2 separate regions of the Homo sapiens genome follow, and region 1 is linked to region 2. The links are contacts of gene promoters, found by promoter capture Hi-C in blood cells and fetal thymus (Javierre and others, 2016). All regions are on one chromosome and are shown on one strand. The core of a region is centred on a gene start or on the middle of the fragment in contact, and the rest is flanking DNA. Distances in the headings are between cores, read along the strand shown. Region 1 holds the start of LGALS16 (galectin 16). Region 2 holds the start of TIMM50 (translocase of inner mitochondrial membrane 50).

What was found. Contacts are between HindIII fragments. The CHiCAGO score rates a contact against its expected background, and 5 or more counts as called.
Region 1: a contact is called between the fragment with the promoter of LGALS16 here and the fragment with the promoter of TIMM50 in region 2, in 2 of 17 cell types (non-activated CD4 T cells and naive CD4 T cells). The highest score is 9.3, in non-activated CD4 T cells.

The regions. Positions count from the first base shown.
Region 1 is chr19:39,652,469-39,658,818 of GRCh38, reverse strand. LGALS16 (galectin 16) reads right to left here and starts at 2,906. Exons shown (of 4, transcript NM_001190441.3): 1 at 2,843-2,906; 2 at 860-936; 3 at 149-359. The coding sequence starts at 2,857. The HindIII fragment of the contact is 3,782 bases long and covers 1-2,992 here.
Region 2 is chr19:39,476,367-39,482,897 of GRCh38, reverse strand. It overlaps TIMM50 (translocase of inner mitochondrial membrane 50), which reads right to left and starts at 2,060. Exons shown (of 11, transcript NM_001001563.5): 1 at 1,937-2,060; 2 at 865-1,015; 3 at 1-13. The coding sequence starts at 2,044. SUPT5H (SPT5 homolog, DSIF elongation factor subunit) reads right to left here. Exons shown (of 30, transcript NM_001111020.3): 30 at 6,228-6,531. The coding sequence ends at 6,499. RefSeq lists enhancers at 1,608-1,657, 1,778-2,372. The HindIII fragment of the contact is 24,447 bases long and covers 1-6,531 here.

The sequences.
Region 1 (6,350 bases), core at 1,657-4,156, 180 kb before region 2:
AGCAGAGGGTGCTCTGTGATGAAAACCTGGGGCAGGGGTAGTTACGGGAGATGGGCCCTGAGGGACTGGTGAGGCCAGGTCAATGAGAGCTGACTCCTGCTCTGGGATCCCAAAGAGCCTGGGTACTGCGAGCTCCTGGGGTGCTCACCTCATACTCATTGTGACACACGTAGATGCGCAAGTCAAATGGTTTGCCATCCTCAAAGGGCACATAGTGTAAATTCTCCTCCAACATCCATATCCCAAACTCACGACTGTTCATGACCACACGACGGCCTAAGTGCACTCGCAAATGGAAGGCAATTTCTGAGTCCTCATTCATCTCAGTGTAGAAATCCACCTGCAGCTGTGGTTCGTTGCTGAGGGCAAAGCACACAGCATATTGGACAGGTTCCTTCATTGCACAGACACACACTTGACACGCACACAAATCCCTTCCCCCATTTACCCAGGGTAAAATTCTCTCTGATGATACTGCAGGCCTGGTCCCTGTGGGGATGCTTCAGCTCCTCGTGCCCCCTGCAGGGAGATGCTGTGCCCCTCATCCCCAGATGAAAACTGAATCACAGTCACTGACCTGGGCCTGTGACTTGTTCATTCCCTGAAAATTCTATGCCCCTTGATAAAGAGCCACAGTCCCAACCCACTGAGTATTCTCCTCCCCTAGGCCCCATGGCTGGCCCACATGCAGTTGCTGCAGGTCTCATGCCTGGTGCTGGAGGGTCTCCAGGACCTGCACCTGCATGGGGCCTCCATCCTGCCAATTAGACATTTCCACATCACCCACACATAAGGTCAAACTCTTAGCAAATATTCTCCTTTCTCCTCCACCCCCTCCATTGGACCATGGAGTACTCACATAGAAGAGTCGATCAGTGTCCCTTTGATTATCACGCAGGAACCAACAGACAAAGACACAGGCAGTTTGTATGGCACCTGCCAGGGTATTGAGAATAAGTGAGAGGTGCAGGGTCAGGTGCAGTCTCCCTTCCTGTAACATATTCCCATGGTGCAGGAGGTTAGAGATCACAGGGCAGGCTCTGTGGACTCTCCCCATTCACTCTACCACAGTCAGGGCCCCACATTCCTGAAGGTATGGTGGACCCATAGGTAAGAGCAAGGGTTCAGGAGCCAAGAAGCCTGGATTCCAGTCCTCATTCTGCCTCTTACTAGCAGTGCAATCTTAGATCGGTTACTTGACTTCCTCAGTTTCCCTAAAACAAGGAGGATTATCATGAATTCCTACTGTGTAGGAAGTTCTCCATAATAGAGCAGTTAATACATGTAAAACTTTTACCCTAATCCCTGGCATGTGTAGGGCCTGTTAGGGGTGACCTAACAGAACAGGGGAGTCCTCCTGAAACACTGATCTGCCTTATTTTCAACTCTCACAATCATCAAGGGCAATGGACGTCCTTCCAAGAAGTGGCACACATTACTGACAGCACAGCCCCAGTACTTGCACAAGTGAAGCCTGTGGGTCAGGGACATAACTGGAGGGAATGATTGATTTCTACAATGACTACAAGTGGTTGATGATTTTTCTGTATTTTTGAGATAGGGTCTTGCTCTGTTGCCCAGGCTGACATGCAGTGGTGCGATCATAGCTCATTGAAACGTTGAACTCCTGGGCTGCAGTGATCCTCACACATCTGCCCCCTCTTGTGTAGCTGGGGCAAAAGGTGCCTGCCACTCTGGCAGTCTGATATTTAAAGTTTTTTAAAGAAAGGGTCTCACTATGATACCCAGACTGGCCTCAAACTTCTGGCCTCAAGTTATCCTCTCATCTTTGTCTCTCAGATTGGTGGGATTATAGCCGTGAGCCAGTGAACCCAGCTGCTTTGTTGATTAATATCCACTGTAAGCTCTGTCTGAACTGAGACTAGACTTGTTCCTTCATGGGTGGAGGAACAAGTTTAGACTCAGTTGAGACATAGCTTACAGTGGATATTTTACGTGATTCAGTCTCTGAAACCATGGCCTCTAATATCCTTCTCTAGCAAACCTCCTGTCCCACAATGAAAAGGACAGGATAGGCTGGGGACAGGGAAGCTGAGCCTGGGAGGCAAGAGACAGTGGTCACTCTGTGCAGACCCCACCTGAGGATCCATCACCCCCATAGTCTCCATTCCTCTTCCCCACTCTTACTGGGAAGAGACATCTACTGATCATACATTCTGCTCTCATAAGTGATCTGAAACAAGTCCTTGGTAACTCACAATCTCCAAGATCCCTACCAGTTAAGCCACCTGGGATCCACATTGCCACACATGAAAAGACACACAGTTCCTTCATCAGAAGTGCTGTTGTGTGGGGAGGAACCTTCACATGCACAGAAGGCCACATGCGTGTTTTCCCTTCAATACTCAGTCACATCCCAGCACACACACCCACAGTCACACAGAGCCATGCCACTCACTGAGTTACACACACCTGCTCACTGCGCACATAAAGATGACCATGCACTGGTCTGGCTGTGCTAACACACACTCACATCACAAAGAGGAAGACAAAGTACAATCACCCCCCTTACACTCACACAAACACCTGCTTGACCTGGTGTGCCATCCACCTCCCACCTAAAGTCACATCATCTCATCAGAGTTCACTCTCATCAGATACCACCTCATGCTCACAGAGGGTTACATTTGTCCAGGATCCACAACCCACATGCTACAAGCATCTCAGATACCCAGCCTCAGTGTTTCTCTTCCACACACCCACAACTCTCAGTAAAGCATTCACAGTAGGAATGCTCATATTTTCATCTCATAAAATACCCCACATCTTTCTTGGTTTTGTGTGACTTGAGATTATTGAAGGCTGTGCCTTTTCAACTCACAGTTAGAAATGACATTGTCCTCTCCTTCTGGGCGACCTTCGGAATTGTGTCCAGTCTTCTGAGTGAATCTCTGAGTTGCAGCACTTAAATGACCCCTTTCAGCTTTGCCCTCTGGCATCATTCCAGATTCCATGCTCCTCCCAGCAAGCTTTCCTTGCAGCATGAGAAAGGGTCAGGTGTCACGAAGAAACTCAGTCACAACCATAACTATTTGCAAGTCTGTGTCTGTAATGCAGCAGAAATGACATTGGGGAAGGTACCAGACTGTGGATTGGGTTACCAGGGAAATGCATAGATAAGGATGATGGAGTGAGGGGTAGTGATTGTAAAGCCCAGCCTTTGTGCCTCTCAAGCCTTTTCTCCACTATGCAGAATCTACCCAGAAGGTGTACATTTTCCCAATTTTGTACAATGGCTAAACAAGAAAAAAAAAGTTGGAGATTTTGGGGGAAACAAGTTAGCCCTAAAAGGTAATTCTTCTCTCTGCCTTTAAATGTTCTGGGAGAGCACTGACCTTGATCCTGAGGAGGATCTGCAGAGAGAAGTAGAGAAATTTCTTGCATGAACCTGCCCCACACTAAGCCACTTGGCTTTGCTAGGTAAGGGCCACTTTCATCTGACTGTCACACACTTGGGCTCTAGCTACACCCTCTGTTGGTGTCCATGTAAATCAAAGTTTGAGGGAGACTGTTTCTTCTGCAGATTCTGGGAGAAAGGTGAGATTTAAAAAAAATTATTATTATACTTTAAGTTCCAGGGTACATGTGCACAATGTGCAGGTTTGTTACACAGGTATACATGTGCCATGTTTGTTTGCTGCACCCATTAACTCGTCATTTACATTATTTATCCTGATGCTATCCATCCCCCTGCCCCCCACCCCATGATAGTCCCCCATGTGTGATGTTCCCTGCCATGTGTCCAAGTGCTCTCATTGTACAATTCCCACCTATGAGTGAGAACATGCGGTATTTGGTTTTCTGTGCTAGTGATAGTTTGTTCAGAATGATGGTTTCCAGCTTCATCCATCTCCCTGCAAAGGACATGAACTCATCCTTTTTTATGGCTGCATAGAATTCCATGGTGTATATGTGCCACATTTTCTTAATTCAGTCTATCATTGAAGGATTTGGTTTGGTTCCAAGTCTTTGCTATTGTGAACAGTGCTGCAATAAACATACGTGTGCATGTGTCTTTATAGTAGCATGATTTATAATCCTTTGGGTATATACCCAGTAATGGGATGCTGGGTCAAATGATATTTCTAGTTCTAGATCCTGGAGGAATGGCCACACTGTCTTCCATAATGGTTGAGCTCGTTTACACTCCCACCAACAGTGTAAAAGCGTTCCTATTTCTCCATATCCTCCCCAGCATCTGTTGTTTCCTGACTTTTTAATGATCGCCATTCTAACTGGTGTGAGATGGTATCTCAATGTAGTTTTGATTTGCATTTCTCTAATGACCAGTGATGATAAGCATTTTTTCCTGTGTTTGTTGGCTGCATAAATGTCTTCTTTTGAGAAGTGTCTGTTCATATCCTTTGCCCACTTTTTGATGGGGTTGTTTGTTTTTTTCTTGTAAATTTGTTTAAGTTCTTTGTAGATTCTGGATATTAGCCCTTTGTCAAATGGGTAGATTGCAAAAATTTTCTCCCATACTGTAGGTTGCCTATTCACTCTGACGGTAGTTTCTTTTGCTGTGCAGAAGCTCTTTAGTTTAATTAGATCCATTTGTCAATTTTGGCTTTTGTTGCCATTGCTTTTGGTGTTTTAGTCATGAAGTCCTTGCCTATGCCTACATCCTAAATGATATTGCCTAGGTTTTCTTCTAGGGTTTTCATGGTTTTAGGTCTAACATTTAAGTCTTTAATCCATCTTGAATTAATTTTTGTATAAGGTGTAAGGAAGGGGTCCAATTTCAGCTTTCTACATATGGCTAGCCAGTTTTCCCAGCACCATTTATTAAATAGGGAATCCTTTCCTCATTTCTTGTTTTTGTCAGGTTTATCAAAGATCAGATGGTTATAGATGTGTGGTGTTATTTCTGAGGGCTCCATTCTGTTCCATTGGTCTATATATCTGTTTTGGTACCAGTATCATGCTGTTTTGGTTACTGTAGCCTTGTGGTGTACTTTGAAGTCAGGTAGCATCCAATTCTGTGAAGAAGGTCATTGGTAGCTTGTTGGGAATGGCGTTGAATCTATAAATTACCTTGGGAAGTATGGCCATTTTCACGATATTGATTCTTCCTATCCGTGATCATGGAATGTTCTTCCATTTGTTTGTATCCTCTTTTATTTCATTGAGCAATGGTTTGTAGTTCTCCTTGAAAGGGTCCCTCACATCCCTTGTAAGTTTGATTCCTAGGTTTTTTATTCTCTTTGAAGCAATTGTGAATGGGAGTTCGCTCATGATTTGGCTCTCTGTTTGTCTGTTATTGGTGTATGGGAATGCTTGTGACTTTTGCACATTGATTTTGTATCCTGAGACTTTGCTGAAGTCACATCAGCTTACGGAGATTTTGGGCTGAGATGATGGGGTTTTCTAAGTATACAATCATGTCATCTGCAAACAGGGACAATTTGACTTCCTCTTTTCCTAATTGAATACCCTTTATTGCTTTCTCTTGCCTGATTGCCCTGGCCAGAACTTCCAACACCATGTTGAATAGGAGTGGTGAGAGAGGGCATCCCTGTCTTGTGTCAGTTTTCAAAGGGAATACTTTCAGCTTTTGCCAATTCAGTATGATATTGGCTGTCGGTTTGTCATAAATAGCTCTCATTATTTTGAGATACATTCCATCAATACCTAGTTTATTGAGAGTTTTCAGCATGAAGGGCTGTTGAATTTTGTCAAAGGCCTTTTCTGCATCTATTGAGATAATCATGTAGTTTTTGTCACTGGTTCTGTTTATGTGATGGATTTTGTTTATTGATTTGAGTATGTTGAACAAGACTTGCACCCCATGTATGAAGCTGACTTCATCGTGGTGGATAAGATTTTTGATGTGCTGCCAGATTTGGTTTGCCAATATTTTATTGAGGATTTTTGCATCAATGTTCATCAGGGATATTGCTCTAAAATTCTCTTTTTTTGTTGTGTCTCTGCCAGGCTTTGGTATTTGGATGATGCTGGCCTCATAAAACGAGTTAGGGAGGATTCCCTCTTTTTCTATTGATTGGAATAGTTTCAGAAGGAATGGTACCAGCTCCTCTTTTTACCTCTGGTAGAATTCAGCTGTGAATCCATCTGGTCCTGGACTTGTTTTTGTTGCTAGGCTATTAATCATTGCCTCAATTTCAGAGCCTGTTACTTGTCTATTCAGAGATTCAACTTCCTGGTTTAGTCTTGGGAGGGTGTATGTATCCAGGAATTTATCCATTTCTTCTAGATTTTCTAGGTTATTTGCGTAGAGGTGTTTATAGTATTCTCTGATGGTAGTTTGTATTTCTGTGGGATCGGTGGTGATATCCTCTTTATCATTTTTTATTGCATCTATTTGATTC
Region 2 (6,531 bases), core at 811-3,310:
ACCGGGTTGTTTCCTGCAAGGGAGACCAGGATGAATATGAGGAATTAGGGCCCAGTCCCCTGGGTCCCGAGGGAGGAGTGGGATAAGGGGCCTGGACTCCTGGATCTGAGGAAAGAGAGAGGCACAGCCTCCTGGAGTCAAGCCAGGAGGGGGCTGGGAGCCAAGATTCCTGGGTCTTTGAGAGAAATGGGGCTGGGGCTAGGTCTTTTGGGTCTGTGGGATTTTTTTTTTTTTTTTTGAGACAGAGTCTCGCTCTGTTGCCCAGGCTGGAGTGCAGTGGCACGATCTCGGCTCACTGCAAGCTCCGCCTCCCGGGTTCACGCCATTCTCCTGCCTCAGCCTCCCGAGTAGCTGAGACTACAGGCGCCCGCCACCACACCGGGCTAATTTTTTTTTGTATTTTTAGTAGAGATGGGGTTTCACCGTGTTAGCCAGGATGGTCTCCGTCTCCTGACCTCGTGATCCGCCCGCCTCGGCCTCCCAAAGTGCTGGGATTACAGGCGTGAGCCACCGTGCCCGGCCGGGTCTGTGGGATTTAAAGTAACTAGTGGGAAGGCTGGATTTTTGGCTGCTGAGGAAAGACAAAGTTTAGGAAGCTGATCCAGGCCTATCCTTCCCCATCTTCCCCTCTTTCCTTTATCCTGGTACAGGAACCAACTAGAAAGACTAGAACCTTAAGGAGTGGAAGGGAGAAGAAAGAAGACTTCCCTGGTTTTCAAGGTAGGTGTCTTATTTGGCTGCCCTATTGAGGAAGGAGCCAGGGAATGAAGACGAGAGAAGCTGGTAGTGGGCAAGAGTGGGAGGTTCCACAGTGGACCAGGGAGGCCAAGGAACAAAACTGGGGGACAGGGATATGTCCCTCACCAAAGATATAGACGACGCTCACAGTCCCACCAGCTCCAAGCAGCCCAGCAAGCCAGAGCGCAACTTTTTTGGCATAGCTGGGACCCTCTGAGCCCGGCTGCTGCTGTGGCCCTTGCGCCTTAGTGCTCCCGCGGCTCCCGATCTCTGCGGCCTGCGGTTGAGAAAGGGGAGGTCAGCCAAGAGAGAAGAGAGGTCAGGATGGTCCCCACCCTCCAGTCCAAGAAGAATCAAGTTCAGGAGCCAAGAGGCAGACACCCACAGAGCCCTGGACATCTGTGTCCCTGGAGTAGCAGTCAGGATGTGGGGCTGCTCAGAGGGTCAAAACCAGACTGTCCCGCACCAGGATGCCAGGAGTTTTAAAAGCTAACAGGCCAGGTGCACAGGATCCTGAAGGCAACAGGACTGGAGGGTCTGCAGCCCAGAAAAGCAAAGCACGGAGAATAAGGGATGGGAGGGCCTAAACACTGGGATGAGAGGGAACGGAGGGCACAAGTGGTGGGGGAAGGGGTACAGACAGAACCGGGAGTTACGACGTCCGGCTGCTTGGGGCTAAAAGTAGCAGAGTTATAGGGTAAGGGATAGGAGCGGAGGCGGGGAAGGGCAATCACTTGTCTGGGGCTTGGGGAACTAAGGCACAGAAGTGATAGACTTGGAGGTCAGAATGGCTGGGTCTCTGTCAACATGGAGGCAAGTCGAATTGGAAACCCAAACGTCTACCTCGCCACCACCAACGCCACAGAGAAAATAACTCCCACGGCCAGACTGGGACTCCAGCGTCCCAGGCCCCTCCTGCTCAAGTATCACCTGAGTGGTCACTGAAACGGGGAACGGTAACCCCCTCCTCCTCCGGCACCCACGTGGGTGGGAGGTGGGGTCTAAGGACACACCTGGATTCCCAGCCTCCAGCCTAGGGGAGCAACCACCCAGGAGGTTGGGAAGGGCCCCAAAACACAAGCGGCGTTTCATTCAGCACCCTGAGGTGAGGCGTCCCGGAACCCCCAAGGGGCGGCGATATGTCCGTAACTCCAGGGAAGGGACCCCACATTCAGAGGGCCACCCTCGTTCCGCTCACCTGATCTGGGGCCCGGCGGGGCGGCGTCGCCAACCTCGTGCACAGTCCCCGCGAGCCGAGCCGGAGCCCGCTTCGCAAGCGCGAGAACACCGCTGCCGAGGCCGCCATCTTGCGCTGACGCCACGCGGCCCCGCCCACTCGCTCCCTCTTCGCCCGCCCCGGGCCGGAGCTACAGCCAATGGAAACGCGGGGGAGGGGCGGGTGGACGGAAGCCCGAGAGAGACCAAAGGCATCGGGCGGATTGCCGCAGGCGCGTTTGCTTCTGACTAGTCTCCTGGCTGACCCTGGGGGCGACAACTGGGATTCAAAGTCATCTGGACCACGCCCCCTTGGGCCTTGCAGAGCGCCACCGCCCCTGCAAAGGACGCAGCGAAGGAAGGGATCACACTTATTGCCCAGAGATAAAGCTGAGGCCATAATGAAGGGAGTCAGTGGCTGCCTGATTTGTCCAAAAAAATAGTCACGAGTCAGGCCGCTTGTCTCACCGTGTAAGGCAATCGGCCCTCACCTCCCAATTGTCTGAAGGGATGGGTTGCCCCTCCACACCTGTGGGTGTTTCTCGTTAGGTGGAACGAGAGACTTTGGAAGAGAAAAAGACACAGAAACAAAGTATAGAGAAAGAAATAAAGGGGGCCCAGGGGACCAGCGTTCAGCATACGGAGGATCCCTCCAGCCTCTGAGTTCCCTTAGTATTTACTGATCATTCTTGGGTGTTTCTTGGAGAGGGGGATGCGTCAGGGTCATAGGATAATAGTGGAGAGAGGGTCAGCAGATAAACACGTGAACAACGGTTCATAGACAAGGTAAAGAATTAAATGCTGTACTTTAGATATGCATACATATAAACATCTCAGTGCCTTACAGAGCAGTATTGTTGCCCGCATGTTCCACCTCCAGCCCTAAGGCAGTTTTCCCCTATCTCAGTAGATGGAACATACAATCGGGTTTTATACCAAGACTTGCCCAGGGACGGGCAGGAGACAGATGCCTTCCTCTTGTCTCAACTGCGAAGAGGCGTTCCTTCCTGTTTTACTAATCCTCCTCAGCACAGACCCTTTACGGGTGTCGGGCTGGGGGACGGTCAGATCTTTCCCTTCCCATGAGGCCATATTTCAGACTATCACATGGGGAGAAACCTTGGACAATACCTGGCTTTCCTAGGCAGAGGTCCCTGCGGTCTTCCGCAGTGTTTGTGTCACTGGGTACTTGAGATTAGGGAGTGGTGATGACTCTTAAGGAGCATGCTGCCTTCAAGCATCTGTTTAACAAAGCACGTCCTGCACAGCCCTTAATCCATTTAACCCTGAGTTGACACAGCACATGTTTCAGAGAGCACGGGGTTGGTTATAGAGAACCCCGTCATCTATAACAGGGTATGGTTATAGATTAACAGCATCTCAAGGCAGAAGAATTTTTCTTAGTACAGAACAAAATGGAGTCTCCTATGTCTACTTCTTTCTACACAGACACAGTAACAATCTGATCTTTCTTTTCCCCACATTGTCAGAAATAGACATTGAGGCCCAGAAAACGACCTGAAAAGCCAGCCCTCGAAAACTCTTCTGGCCAGGCGCTGTGACTGACACCTATAATCCCAGTGCTTCGGGAGGCCGAGGCAGGAGGATCGCTTGAGGCCAGGAGTTTGAGACCACACTGGGTAACATAGCAAGACTGCAATCTCTATTTTTAAAATTAATAATAATAGGCCGGGCGCAGTGGCTCATGCCTGTAATCCCAGCACTTTGGGAGGCTGAGGCAGGCGGATCACCTGAGGTCAGGAGTTTTGAGACCAGCCTGGCCAACATGGGGAAACCACGTCTCTACTAAAAATAACAAAAAAAAAAAAAAATTAGCCAGGCATGATGGCACGCGCCTGTAGTCCCACCTACTGGGGAGGCTGAGCAGAAGAATCGCTTGAACCCAGGAGGCAGAGGTTGCAGTGAGCCTAGATTGTGCCACTGCACTCCAGCCTGGGCGACAGAGGGAGACTCCGTCTCAAAAAAAATAAAATAAAAATTAATAATAAAACTCTTCCTCACGTGGAGCTGGGAGGCAGAATCTGTTTTCTCTCCCATTCCTTCCTGCCATGATTTTCTATAAAGGACTGGAGAGCCAACCATTTTACCTGAGGCTCAGCCAAAGAACAGCAGTATCTGGCTGTACAGGGCTTGAGTGAGAAACGAATTAGAGGCTATAGATAAGACACCACGAACCTCCCTTAAATTGAGTGGAAGAAAAATCAGATCCTGTTTATGTAAACTTTAAAACCAAATACCAAGGTAGTAAAAATACAAATTCAAGAAAGGGAAAGACACAAGGAACTCGGCCCTCCTGGTTACTTCTGGGGGAATGGATTTAGGGTGCTGCTGAAGTGGGTCCTATCTAGTACATATTGTTTCCTGTTTCCTCAGCTGGCTGATGGGGACATTGGTGTTCTTGGTATATAATCTTGAACGTCTGAAATGTTTTTTGGTGTTTTTTTTTGTTGTTGTTGTTGGTTTTTTTTGGTTTTTTGAGACAGAGTTTTGCTCTGTCACCCTGGCTGGAGTGCAGTTGGTGCAATCTCGGCTCACGGCAACCTCCACCTCCCAGGTTCAAGCGATTCTCCTGCTTCAGCCTCCCAAGTAGCTGGGAATACAGGCGCCCGCCACCATGCCCAGCTAATTTTTTTTGTATTTTTAGTAGAGACAGGGTTTCACCATATTGGTCAGGCTCGTCTCAAACTCCAGACTTCAAATGATCCGCCCCCCTCGGCCTCCCAAAGTGCTGGGATTACAGGCATGAGCTATTGCGCCCGGCCTGAAATGTTTTATAATACATTTACATTTGTAAAAAGACAGGAATATCTAACGAGGAAGGGAAACAGGTTCTGGGTACTAAGCCCCAGTCTCTAAGATTGCACTCACTCCTGCCCCCAAGTCATTGGATGAACTACAGCAATCCTGGTGTCACTGCTATCAGGGTTCAAGAAAAAGGACCGCTGAGCACTGTGGCTCACGCCTGTTATTGCAGCACTTTGGGAGGCCGAGGCAGAAGGATCACTTGAAGCCAGGAGATCGAGACCAGCCTGAGCAATATAGTGAGACCCGTCTCTATGAAAAACTTAAAAATAAAAAAATTATCCAGGCGTGGTGGCACACGCCTGTAGTCCCAGCTACTTAGGAGGCTGAGGCAAGAGGATCGCTTGAGCGCAGGAGGTTGAGGCTGCAGTGAGCAATGACTGCACCACTGAACTCCAGCCCGGGCAACAGAGGGAGACCCCACCTCAAACAGAAAAGAAAAAAAAAAGGATCATTGGCCAGGTGCAGTGACTCACGCCTGTAATACCAGCACTTTGGGAGGCCGAGGCGGGCGGATCACGAGGTCAGGAGTTCAAGACCAGCCCGGCCAACATGGTGAAACCCGTCTCTCCTAAAAGTACAAAAAAAAAAAAATAATAATAGCCAGGCGTGGTGGCTCACGCCTGTAATCCCAGCTACTCAGGAGGCTGAGACAGGAGAATTGCTTGAACCCAGGAGGTACAGGTTGCAGTGAGCCGAGATCATACCTCTGAACTTCAGCCTAGATGACAGAGAGAGACTCTGTCTCAGGGGAGGAAAAAAAAAAAAAAGGCCAGGTGCGGTGGCTCACGCCTGTAATCCCAACACTTTGGGAGGCCAAGGTGGGCGGATCACGAGGTCAAGAGATCAAGACCATCCTGGTCAACATGGTGAAACCCTGTCTCTACTAAAATACAAAAAAATTCGCTGGGTGTGGTGGTGCACGCCTGTAATCTCAGCTACTGGGGAGGCTGATGCAGGAGAATCGCTTGAACCCGGGAGGCGGAGGTTGCAGTGAGCCAAGATCGTGCCACTGCACTCCAGCCTGGTGAGAAAGCAAGACTCCATCTCAAAAAAATAAAAATAAAGAGAAAACAAAGAAAAAGGACCATCAAGCACTGTATCCTGCACCACAGGAGGAATTTAGGTTTCCTGGGGGATACTGTGATTTTCACTTAGCATAATTCATGCCTGAATAAGATATAATGTCATCAATCACATGACAAGCTCTACTCTGATCATCTCCTTCCGACGTCTTCTCATACACACTCCCCTCAAGAGCTCTCTGGGGCAGGCACTATCACTATTATCTAGATGGGAAAACAGATTTAGGTAGGGTCCAGTTATTTGCCCCAACCACAAAGCAAGGAAGTGGGGTCTGCAAATGACCCCACTTAAAAACAACACCCTCATTCCCACGGCATACACACACACACACACACACACACACACACACACACACACACACGCACTTTTAGACCAAACAGCTTCTTTTTATTGAAAGACGGTACAACAAAAGCAAGCTGTGGGGAGGAGGTACAGGAAGGTGGGGACCCTCCCCCAGACTCTACTCAGATTCCAATGAGCACCAGGGAGGGAAAAGATGGAAAACTAAAAGGAAAAACAAAAGGAAATCCAGAACAATCCGCCTAGCCCTGCAGGAGGATCTTGTGTCACAGCCAAGGGCCAGGGAAGGAAGGAGGATCACTCTTCATCCGACGAAGTCCACCGGCCCTGCCTGCTTCAGGCTTCCAGGAGCTTCCCCAGGAAGCGGAG